Regions from separate parts of the Homo sapiens genome. Here all the other regions are linked to region 3. Evidence: promoter capture Hi-C in human tissues and cell types (Jung and others, 2019). All regions are on one chromosome and are shown on one strand. Each heading gives the region's core, a stretch centred on a gene start or on the middle of the fragment in contact. The rest is flanking DNA. Distances are from core to core; before and after follow the strand shown. Region 1 overlaps TBCEL-TECTA (TBCEL-TECTA readthrough). Region 2 overlaps TBCEL-TECTA (TBCEL-TECTA readthrough). Region 3 holds the start of TECTA (tectorin alpha).

Region 1 (3,918 bases), core at 1,158-3,657, 51 kb after region 3:
ATGTATCGCAGACCTTCAGTCACTGTTAACACTGGCATATGAACAAGTTAAACAAATAAATAATAAAAATAAAACAAGTGAATACTGGCCCATGAACAGAAAGACCAACCAACGGAAAGAAGAGAAAGTTCAGAAACAGGCCCAAACACTAAAGAGAAATTAGCGTATGGTAAAGCTGGCATTTCAAATTACTGGGAAAACATATTTGTTATTCAGTAAGTAGTAAAAGGTCAAAGGGCAAACTAGCTGGGAAAAGCTAAATCCTTCCTTCATTTCTTACTCCGAAATAAAATCCGGGCAGAACAAAGATTAAACAGAAAAAAATTAAATCACAAAAATACTAGAAGAAAACAAAGGAGCGTTCTTGATAATCTTGCAGTGGAGAGAACATTTCAGAACAAATTATCCAAGGCTAAAAGGGAAACTTGACAAATTTCATTACATTAAAAATTTTACATCTTTACATGGCAAAGAGATAACAACTTCAAAAAAAGTTAAAAAATTATTTAAAAATGAATACAAAGTCAAAAGGCAAATGATAAATATTTTGTAACACATATGACATACCACAAAGGCCTATTTTAATTTTTTTTTTTTTTTTTTTTTGAGATGGAGTCTTTCTCTGTCACCAGGCTGGAGTGCAGTGGCACGATCTCAGCTCACTGCAACCACCGCCTCCTGGGTTCAAGCAATTCTCCTGCCTCAGCCTCCCAAGTAGCTGGGACTAAAGGCGCATGCCACCATGCCTGGCTAATTTTTGTATTTTTAGTAGAGACAGGGTTTCACCATGTTGGCCAGGATGGTCTCGATCTCTTGACCTCATGATCCACCTGCCTCGGCCTCCCAAAGTGCTGGGATTACAGGCGTGAGCCACTGTGCCTGGCCAGGCCTATTTTAATTTTTAAAGAACTTTTATAATTTAATAATAAAAATTTCAACAACATGAAATGTGAAAAGGATATGAAAAGGCAGTTAACAAAAAAAGACATATAAATGGATTATAAACAAATGAGAACAAGAGGATCAACCTCACAAAGAAATGCAAACTAAATAAGGAGATGGCACATATCGCATTTTAACCTTGTTTCCAAGGATCAGACAATTTGGTGATAAGACAATCAAGGAGAGTGTGGGAAAACAAACCTCCTCCAATAGCGCAGGTAGGAAGACAAATTGGCACAGTCTCTTTAGAAGCAACTTAGCGGCATTCATACCATTTCACCCAGTAATTCCACTTTCAGTAATTTATTCCACAGATGCCCTTACTCATGAGGGCAAAGGTATACATACAGGGATGTTCACTGCAGCATCAGCATAAACACATAAAGTACACACAGCATGCAGCAGTGCAAAAGCAATAATTTGAGGCTAAATGGAATGAATATTGTCATAAAGAAAGCAATGAGCAGAAATGTGTATATATTATGCTCCCATTTATGCAAAAAATAATGGACAAGGCATACATGTATGCTTATGTGCATACACACACACACAGATGGGTGCTTGTATATGCATAGAACACTTCTGGAAAAATTGACTATAGTTTGCTATCGGAGGTTGCCATTTCATCACGCTTTTTCTTGTATGGTTTGGATTTTCTACACTATGCAAGTATTATGTATTAAACTACAAATGTTTTTTAAAAACATGGTATATTGTGAGAGTGGTTATATGAATCAATACATGTGTTAAAATTCATAGAACTGTGTACTCTAAAAGTAGGTGTTACCGCTATATAATTTAAAAAATGAAATAACCCCCCATATAGATACTGTATAGGGTATAGGGTAGAAGTTCCCACATAATGGTAGCTGTGCTTTTAGTATACGTTGATTGAGATAATAGCTTCTACGAAACTTTTTAAGCAAACCTATCTTTAATGATTGACTAATACTGAACACTTACATGCCAACCACTGTTCTGAGCACACAGACTCACTTAATCCTTTGCAATCAGCCATGAAGTGAATGCTATTGGTATCTGTATTTATAGATAAGAAAGCTGAAGCTCAGAGAGCCCGAGTGACGCTCTGGGTCTCTTATAGCTGGTTCCAGAGCCCACACCCTTCACCAGGACCCTACCTGCCTTCTATAGAAGCATCTAGATGCATTTGAAAAATGGCAGAACATAATTGACGTGAATCAGTTTGCACAGACATGTGCACGTGCACACACCCATGCATGCCAGCACGTGTACTCATGCACACAAACACACACGGTGTACATTTGCCTTCTCAGAGATCATGGGGCTGAGGCATCTACTGATGATAAGCTGCTGGCTTAGAAAAACGTTCTGTAGAAGCTCTGGGGTGTAGAGGAGCTGACATTGGTCGAAGAGGGAGAACTACATGGGTAAGGTGGGACTCCCACTGGCACTTGAAGAACCAGGAATTTGGATAGGCTGAGAGGATGAAGAAGGGCATGAATAAGAAAGATCAATGTGAATGAAGACCTAGAGGCAGGAGGAGTGTGGGTGCCCTGGGAGGTTATCAGGTGACATGTCTAACTGGAGATTCAGATGGGCGGTGGGTTCAGGTGGCAGGCCATAGAGGATCTCAATGGCCAGGCTGAGGTGAGGACGACCATGATGTGAGAAGCTCCAGCCACCTCCGTCTGCATGTTGGCCCTTTATTTAAGCAGGAACGAATCAGACCCAGGCTTTCTGTGAGCAAAGAGGGCAGTAATGAAGAAAGGCGGCAGACCTCCTGGCTCCTGCCTCTCCCCGTGCCTTTCATCTCCCTGAGTAGGTGAGCAATGGCCATGAGAAAACCCTCCTCGGTGCCTTGTGATCGTGCGAGTCTTGACTTGTCTCTCTTGTTCCAGCTGTCACCTGCCCTCCAAACAGCCATTACGAGAGCTGCGTGAGTGTCTGCCAGCCCCGCTGCGCCGCCATCCGCCTGAAGAGTGACTGCAGCCACTACTGCGTGGAGGGCTGTCACTGCGACGCTGGCTACGTCCTCAACGGCAAGAGCTGCATCCTGCCCCACAGCTGCGGCTGCTACTCCGATGGCAAATATTACGAGGTATGGGAGGCCAGCCCGGCCTTTTCCTCCTTGCCAATGATCAGATTCCTCTCCAACTCTAAGAGGTTGGTCAGATTGACCAATTTTCCCACTTCATTATGAAGAGCGTCGTGTTCGTGGCAGGGGAATGGGATGGGGGGTAGAGAGGCTAAGCACACTGTTCAGGTGATGCTCTTGGGCACTGAGTGTCAGATTTGGAAAAACACCTGAGTGTCTCCTTCCTCCCTCCTCCACAGTGGCAAGGTCTCCAGCACTCTGCCTCCCCTACTCACTCACATTTGTGTGTCTGTGTCGTGCCTTTCTCTGATTTTCTGTCCTGTGAATCTCAGTTTGAAAGCTTCAGATAGAGCTATAGTTTGGATACACGGTGGCTGTGAATCTGATATTTGTAGCTGTCTTAGCTAAGGACATTTGTAACTGGAAAATATGGAGCTGGAGGCTGAGTGGGGCGGACTTCCCTCTTCTGTCTGTTGAGGCTCCGTGAGGGTAGCTGTGGCTGCCATCTCCACGTGTGCCATTTGTCACTGTGGTATCATCCCTGGAGTTTGGTCTGGACTGCTAATGTGGTGCCCCCACATCCCACCCTCTGCGGCGCCCTCTACAGGAGTTTAAACATAGAGTTCATGAAGATGCCCTTCGTAGATGTTTCTCAATAAAGCATATTAGTTCACGAAATCATTTCACTTTTTGGACTTTGTAATCTTTCCATAATACTAAGCTAGAATTCCATAATACTAAGCTAGAAAAGCTCTTGCCTAGACAAGGTATTTAGTTCATGGTTCGACCTCAAGCCCATTCTCTGTTTAAATGATATCAAAACCATATGTTGGCAAGTTAGATGGTTAACAACTACAGATAATTGAGTATCTGCTGTTTGCAAAGCACTGTGCTGGTGG
Region 2 (4,005 bases), core at 1,340-3,839, 50 kb before region 3:
CAGACTCCTTTTAATATATGACTCATGATTATGACACTGTCCTGCATAAAGGCCTACAGTTGCCTTTCTTTGCCTAGAAACTAAAGTCTGACTCTATAAGCATGACCCTTCATCATATGGCCCTTTGCTATTTCTAGAACTTTTTCTCCCTCTTTAGCCATATACTTTTACTTGCAGCTCATGATAAACTCAAAATAAAAAGCTTCCTTGCTTTTATTCATTCTGAACCCACTGCTCTCTTTCTTTTCTTGTCTACCTGGCCACTTCCTATTTATCCTTCAAGACTTGGCCCAAGTTGCTATTCCTCTGTGAAATTTTCCCTGGCTGTCTCACAGACAGAGTCAGATTATCGCAGAGCACCTACACTATACCACTGTGAAAGGATTTATCACAGTCTTGTATAATGACTTGCTTACTTGACAGTTTTCCTAATAGACTATGAGCTTATTCCAAGTGGAGATTTTTATCTTTTTTTTATCATAAGCCCAGCATACCAAGTAGTCAAATATTTGTTGAGTGCGTTAATGATTAAATGATTATATCTTAAGGATTAATCAAGACCTCTTGTTCCAACTTTTCCTGTGATCTTAAGAAATTTACTTAATCCTTTAGAGCTTTAGTTTGCTTATCCATAAGGTAGGCTTGCCGATAAAATTAATCATTGAAACACTTAGTAGATATTGAATGCTATACAAATCCTAAGACAGATTTCTTGTTTAAGAAAAACCTATCCATAACCTAGTTTTGGTAAGCTTTTCTTAAATTTCTCTATTTTATGCCCTTGTTAAATCTGGTAACTGTGTTCGTGGTTATATTTCCTACTTTTATTAGGATTTTAACCAAAATTCTTTGCAATGCATGTCACCTATTTCTAAGTGATTTATTAACATATGCAAATTTATAGGGCTATTCTAAAAAATAATTTCTATTTGTATATATATTTATTTACTTATCTGAACAACTTGTATAGTTTACTGTTTAACAAATTACAGATTGTGCCTTCTTGGTCCTCTGCAACATTTAACTGCCATGCATGCTTTATCTGCACTTCAAATTTGTTTCTTTGGAAATACAAAATTTTACAAAGGTTTTGTGCCTGGACCATGTATATAAGCTTTTGCTAATTGGTGGGAACAGTTTAATAGTGATGTAGTTGCTACCTCAGGAGGAAGATGTGTGTAATATGGATCAGTATACAGTGTGTACACTAAGTAATTCAGCATTTTTCCCTGCTTAGACAAAAGTCTATGTTACATTTTTCTCAAGCCACATTGACATATATCCAGAGGGTCACATACTTATTTATACTGTATTTATACTCAGTTTGTGTATTCCTAAGTGCTCTATAGTCTGTTTTCAGGCAGTTTTCAAGTAAATATTTGTTGCTGCTACTTTCAGGTATCCATTTTCTAATTTATTTTTGTTTTCATCATTCCTTTATATTTCCTCTTTATCCTTAACTGTAGTTGATCCCAGTCTTCTAGAGGATATATCAGAACATAGAAAAGGGAGAAATATGACAAAAGAATGTTGATTTTTAGGATTGATTAAACTCTTGGCCAGGCTACAAATGCTTCATAGGTCGCCTGTTTTAGGACATTACATTTCAACCCCATTATAACCCATATATCTGATTACCAAAAAGATAATTTGTCCTTAGCTATTAACGGAATTTATTTCAGCCAGTATTGATAGGGCAATGTGGAACCAGTTGTATAATTTTTCCCTTAGTTTTTTGGATGACCAAGAATATTATAGGTTATGAGTAACTTCTTTTGTAACTTAATTTGCTGGCTGCTATATATCCAGAGACTAAGATAAATATGGATGAGAGAAGTAATACTTCTGGGGAGGCAAAGATTTGTCTTCACCCTTCTAAAATTGGGCACCTATGTTTAAAAATAATGCATTTTTTTTTAGCTTTTGACTTGAATTTTTGGCTGAGTAGATCTTTGTCTGACCTTTCCCAAGCTACCTTCTTTTTACTCCATTCCTTATCAAAACCATTTTATAAAAGAAATTAAACCTAGTGGTTGAGAGGAGGGAGGAAGTAGCCACTCAGGTAAGGTAGAGAATAGCTTAGGTACAGATGACAGATTGTTGTCTTAAAACCCTTTTCCCATTTTTCTTAAATCTTCAGTTTCTTCCTTTTTGGAAGCCAAAGTAAAGGGTCCCCTATTACATCATAGAATTGTAGAAACCTAAAATGTGATCTGAGTTCATCTCCATGTTTCTGCACATGAGCATACTCATTCCAGTTAGAGGAGTCTTTTTTATTTTTAGAATTTAAAAAAGAGAAGTCAATATACTGCCCTAGAAACTCATGGAATGTTTGTCGGCTTTTGGTACTGGCAAGTTTTTCTGTCATAAGTAAATTTATCTGTGTAATGAATATTATGTCTTCCTGAGTCTTATCAATTTGAGGTTACTCAAAAAAACCTTTTTTATTTTATCCCTTTAAAGAAAATATTCATTTATTTCTAACATTTGTTATTTTTCCTGCTTGAATGATTAAATTCTAGTTCAGTTTTACCTTTTAGGATATTCTAGGGTTAACAAGTCATTATTCTGAATATTAATTTTCACTGTACAGTAATGCTGATGCAGACCATGGTGATTACATCATATATCTGCTAGCCTTGGGAAATCTCCCAGAAATTGTTTCAAAACCCTTAAATTATCTATTTTTTAAAGCGTTTTCCTCTTTATTATAAAAATAAAATATGAGTGGTAGTAGTTAGCAAAGGGTTTATGTTTTGTTTTTATTTAACTGGGGTTGTCCTATAAGTTATTCTTCGTGCTTTAGTTGGAGCATAATTCCTGTCCCCCTCCAACCTCCACAAAGAGGTTAAGTATAGCTGGTAAGCATCTTCTGTATGAAAGTTCTTCGTATCGGTATTCAATCATAGAATGCAGTACAGATTGGTTCCTGCATGAACTATTTAGCTGTGTTTTGGTCACAGACTGAGCTCCAAATACTAGCCATATATTGCACAAATGTTTGGTACCATTTGATCGCAAAAGGGATCAAGCAAGAGAATATGTGCACACTGGTATAAATTCCTTACACTTTAAACAGAAGCCTAGTATATTTTCTCTAAAAGGCAGCTCATTTCTTCATTTGTAAAATGAGGATAAAAATGGTACCCACTTTATAGGGTTAGTGTGTGGAATAAGTGAAATAGTGAATGCAGGGAACCTTTTCTTCTCACCTACTCTTCTGAAACTTCTTGGAATTAATCTACTTCTCACTGATTTTAGAGCTCCTGAACTCAATGTTTACACAGTAGATCTGATGTAAAGTACAGATTACTTTTTCTTTCTACCCATGGTTCTCCCTCCTGGATACTCTTTTGGCATTACTTCTGGAGCTCTGAAAAGAAAGATATTCAGGTTGCAACCCTGAAGCTTGTCCCACCTATGAAGCTTCTGATTCAGTAATTATGGTGGAACCTTGGAATCAGCATATTTTAAATTCTGTCAGTGATTCCGATGGGTAGCTAAGGTTGAGATAATGGTTCATATTATGCTTATGTTCATAATAGTTACATTTATTAAATGATTTTTTGCCATTAAGTTATTCAATAAATAAGTGTCCACTATGCAGTAGTGAAGTAGGTAAGTACTATATCTGCTTTTATAGAGCTTACATGCTAGTTGGGGGTACGTAGGGAAACAAGTTTCAAAAAAATGTGTCACTTGCTATGCTAAGCACTTTAATGTGTATCTCATTTAATCCTACCAACAGATGGGAACTATTTTCCCTATTTTACAAATGAGGAAACTGAGATTTGGAAAGATTAAGTCACTTGTCTGAAATCACACAGCTAGGAAGTGTTGGAACCTCGTTTGAACCCAGGCTTTTTGACTCTAAAACTAATCCTAACTACTCTTTTCTCCTTTTCTTATAGCTTTTACTTACCACATTGCCTGGTTGTTTGATGCTTAATACATTTGCTGGACATCTAGCATTTATTTCATACTTGTTTAAGCTGATCCTTCTCG
Region 3 (3,787 bases), core at 110-2,609:
AGCAGTTAATTAAAACACAGCCAGCGATTTTGCTTCAAGACATTTAGGTTGGCTACTGGACTAAAACCTAAGGCTGGACAAAGAGAATCCTTCTGTAATGAGTCTTTGATTTGAACTTAATTTTATTTTAAATAGGCACCCAAGAAACTAGCTTTTCTGTTATATAAATATACGCCATTCTAAGCACTCCTAGAATCCAAAGAAAAACAAATAAATGTGAGTCATTTGGAAAGAAGCAGTCATTTAACATCTGTAAGTAAATATGTGTGGAGGATTCATAATACCAGTGAGAGAATAAACAATGTGGGAAACCTACTGAATTATCACAGGTTTTTGGAAAAACACGGAGTAATTTAAACTAAAAAAATTTAGCTCGCCAAGCACTCTTGTCCATTTTAAGACAACATGCTTAAACCCAGAATTATATTTCTTTTGTACAGTTGGCATTTAAATGTCTGGTCAGAGAAAATTTGCAGTAATTTTTAAATTCCCATTGATGTGCAGAAGAGTTTTTTTTTCCTGCTACAGTCAAGTTACTTCTTTCTTAATAAATTCCATTTAAACATTTTGAATAGTAGATTTAGCTTATGCCTTAGCCAGTTTTGCTCATTCCACATCTACTGGATGCTTGGAAGCATCTAACCGAGCACGTTTTCCTCTTATTCACATGCCTTTTAAACTATTTACTTACTGCAAATTTTTTATCAGAAGGGGTTTATCTCCCCCCTCTGCCTCCAGTGACCCTCACTGGGTGTTAGGGAAGGTTTCCAGGCCACAGTTTGAGATTTCCCTTGTGGAAGATCGTGTCTAGCGCTAGGTCCCTTGTTAGATTTTGCCTGGAAAGTGCCCTGTCCTATCTCCTGCAGAGCGGTGCATCAGAGAGAAAAGAGAGGGCATAAAACCTAAAAAGTTTGGAAATTTTCTTTAAATACTTCATGCATACCTGTGAAAAAATAGAGTAGAGCCTATCTGTGGCGACTGTTGAAAACCAGAGAAACAAAAAAAGACTTTAATAGAAAACCAACTTCATTTAAATGTTGGAGGCAGCTGCTTTGTTTGGAGTTTTAATCCCATGCTGGTGGATGCTAATTCTGTAACATTATACAGTTGCCTTCTTTTGGGTACAAAGGTAGAAGGGGGGTTTTCTTTTGTGTTTTTCAGTGCAAAGTGATTCTGATCAGAAAGGCCCAAGGTTTCAGCTCCAAGTACCTGACATTTCCATCTGAATCTACTTTTTTTTTCAAAGGGGAAAAAAAAAGGTCTAGTTTTTCAGGAAAAGAACCTCTCTACGCAATCCTGAAACTGATCTTTAGATTTACTTTTCCTTAATCAATAGAAAAAAACTTGATTGCAGCTCAACACTTACCTGTCTCTAGTGCAGGACTAACTTAATTTTTGGTTTTAAGAGTACGAGATTCAGACATTATTTCAGGAATCAGAAATTATTGGCAACAAGTTGAGGAGAACTGACATGAATTCTTGTTTTACCTAATTTTTTCTGGCTTACCAAGATTTGGCTTAATATTTCTGACTCAGTTCCTCCAGCCTCTACAGAACAGGTTAGTGACATTTTTCATAAATACAAATATCTAAATGAATCCTCCTTACTTCTCTCTGAACCGGTTCCCTAAGGGCTCTAGTCTTAAACTTGCACGGCATCTTCTCCATTAAAGCTGTGTGTGATCTCTGCTAAACCTTTGTACCCTTTCCAGCAAAACTGTCTAATATTTAATATGTGCTTGAAATTACAACATATATACTTGACAACTAAAGATTTGCAATAAAACTCTCACAGGATAAATTCATTGCCTTTCCCGTGAAAGTTTGGCTGAAGAATTGTGATAACTTCAAATGATAAGAGGAAGGTTTTTCTTTTTTAAGAATACTGTCAGGAGGAGACTTCATGGTCTAGCCACACGCTTGGGTGATGTCTAACTTGAGCTTGCGTCCGTGTTCTCATCGCAGCTTTGCAGAGTGACACAGACAAAACATGCTCCTGATGGAGGGTAAAGCCACCATGCAACCGATTGTAAACTAACACGAAAACAAGTTTCTCTTTGCTGTGTTCCTTCTTTAATTAACTTGCTGGAACTAATTGGTTGCTTGTGCGCTGGATTCTATTTTTATTGTGATTCCAACTCTGGATTGGTCCTTTTTTATTACTAATGTTTCTATCATTCATTTCACTGTGGGAAGTCAGTGAACAGAGTAGACTGGCCCTGAATCTGGTCAATACTTCAAAATGATGGATCGGCTCCATTCTATGGAGAAGGTGATGGCAGACTCTAAATTCTCCTAGCTGTAGAACACATTGTGTTTTAACCAACTTTTGTTTGATTCTGATGGAAAGCTGTAGTGAAAATTAGGAAATCCAGGTCTCACTGGGGTGTGGTTTCTGCTGCAGAGACACAACCCGGGACCTGCATGCATCTTTAGCGTTGGGTCCTAGTTTTCAGCGCTTTATTTGATGCAGAGGGGATACCTTTCCTTTACGCATACCACTCTCACTGATCCTAAATAATTACTTGACAGTTTGAATGATCTCATTACACTTCCAGACTGGCTTCTTCTGGGCATCTAATTTGTTCATGAAGTGTTGAACTTCGGAGGACCTGCCAGCATTCAGGGGATTTCAGCCCGACTCAGCACTGTTGATGTTGTTATGTGAATTTGTTCTATGACGGTTTTGATGGTCTTGGGATTAGCCACTAAACACACCTGGTGTTCTGTTTACTCTGGCAAGCTGGGGATTTTTTTTTCATTTTCTTTTTAAAATTCCAGGATGAATTATTCATCATTCCTTAGAATTTGGGTCTCTTTCATCTTCGCACTTGTACAGCACCAAGGTGAGTACTACAGAATTCCATAAAGCTCTCAGTTAGCATGCTCTTGAATTGATAAAGAGACACTTTTATTGGAACCACAATTGTAAGGGCAGGTGCATGTGTGTCTACAGATACAAGAGAAAAATGTAATTAAATTCTATTATCAAGGGTAAAATTCATTAACTTTAAATGAGGTTTACTTATATTCCCACTTTTTTCTTATTTAACTTCAAATACTATTTGTATGTACCAGCTTGCCCTGTGCTAGTGGAGTAGATCTTTAAAATTACGCAAAATTATTTCCATTAAAAGTAGATAAGATAGGGGTATGTGCACTTCATGTCTGATCACTGATTTCCATTAAGGCATTTAATTTGTGGTGGAGACTTTAAAGAATCTACTTATTTCGGCCAAAAACTAGGAAATTACAATAGCATTGATGTCAGTGGTTTGTGTATCAGTGACCTTTTACGTGGCCCTCAAATCTAAAACTTAAATAAGACAATTTTTCCCCTCAGTGATTCCTTCTTTTTCTCTGTGTAGCACTGCCCTGGGTAAGTGAAAGGCCACATATGTCTTTTTTCTACTGTTGTTTTGGATTTTAGACAAAGACGGGGCGGTCTACGTAGATTTTAACTTTTTATGGCTAAAATTCTAAGGCACCTTTCTTTACCTTGCGAGTTTGTCTAGTTCAAGTGGCACATGAGTACAAGTCTGAGATGAACACGTCAAGCCCCTGTGCAGTGCTAATATTTTTCCAGAATTGGTGAATTTAAGCAGTTAAACCATAGTGTGAAACCCCACGGGAATGAAAGAGGGCCCTTGACTTCAACCTCCTACCCCAGCTCCAAGAAAGTACATTTTATTTGGTGGGAAAAAAAAAATCCTGGAAACATAGCTATGTTTATTGTGAAATTCTCAGCTTAGGGCAAGCATGGATAGGGATATTCTTTCTTTTAGCA

Evidence for each region. Contacts are between HindIII fragments. The study calls those that stand out against the background at their distance.
Region 1: a contact is called between a fragment that was not itself captured here and the fragment with the promoter of TECTA in region 3, in 2 of the 25 tissues and cell types used here (liver and mesendoderm cells).
Region 2: a fragment that was not itself captured here is called in contact with the fragment with the promoter of TECTA in region 3 in 2 of the 25 tissues and cell types used here (dorsolateral prefrontal cortex and liver).

What each region holds. Positions count from the first base shown.
Region 1 is chr11:121,150,059-121,153,976 of GRCh38, forward strand. TBCEL-TECTA (TBCEL-TECTA readthrough) reads left to right here. Exons shown (of 30, transcript NM_001378761.1): 19 at 2,823-3,022. It overlaps TECTA (tectorin alpha), which reads left to right. Exons shown (of 24, transcript NM_005422.4): 13 at 2,823-3,022. Among named protein-coding and RNA genes, the nearest start is that of TECTA, 51 kb to the left of the region's middle. The HindIII fragment of the contact is 8,423 bases long and covers 1-3,918 here.
Region 2 is chr11:121,048,625-121,052,629 of GRCh38, forward strand. The region is part of intron 3 of TBCEL-TECTA (TBCEL-TECTA readthrough); the gene reads left to right. All of the region lies in intron 4 of TBCEL (tubulin folding cofactor E like), which reads left to right. Among named protein-coding and RNA genes, the nearest start is that of TBCEL-TECTA, 27 kb to the left of the region's middle. The HindIII fragment of the contact is 3,312 bases long and covers 934-4,005 here.
Region 3 is chr11:121,099,884-121,103,670 of GRCh38, forward strand. TECTA (tectorin alpha) reads left to right here and starts at 1,360. Exons shown (of 24, transcript NM_005422.4): 1 at 1,360-1,559; 2 at 2,782-2,846. The coding sequence starts at 2,783. TBCEL-TECTA (TBCEL-TECTA readthrough) reads left to right here. Exons shown (of 30, transcript NM_001378761.1): 8 at 2,782-2,846. The HindIII fragment of the contact is 17,013 bases long and covers 1-3,787 here.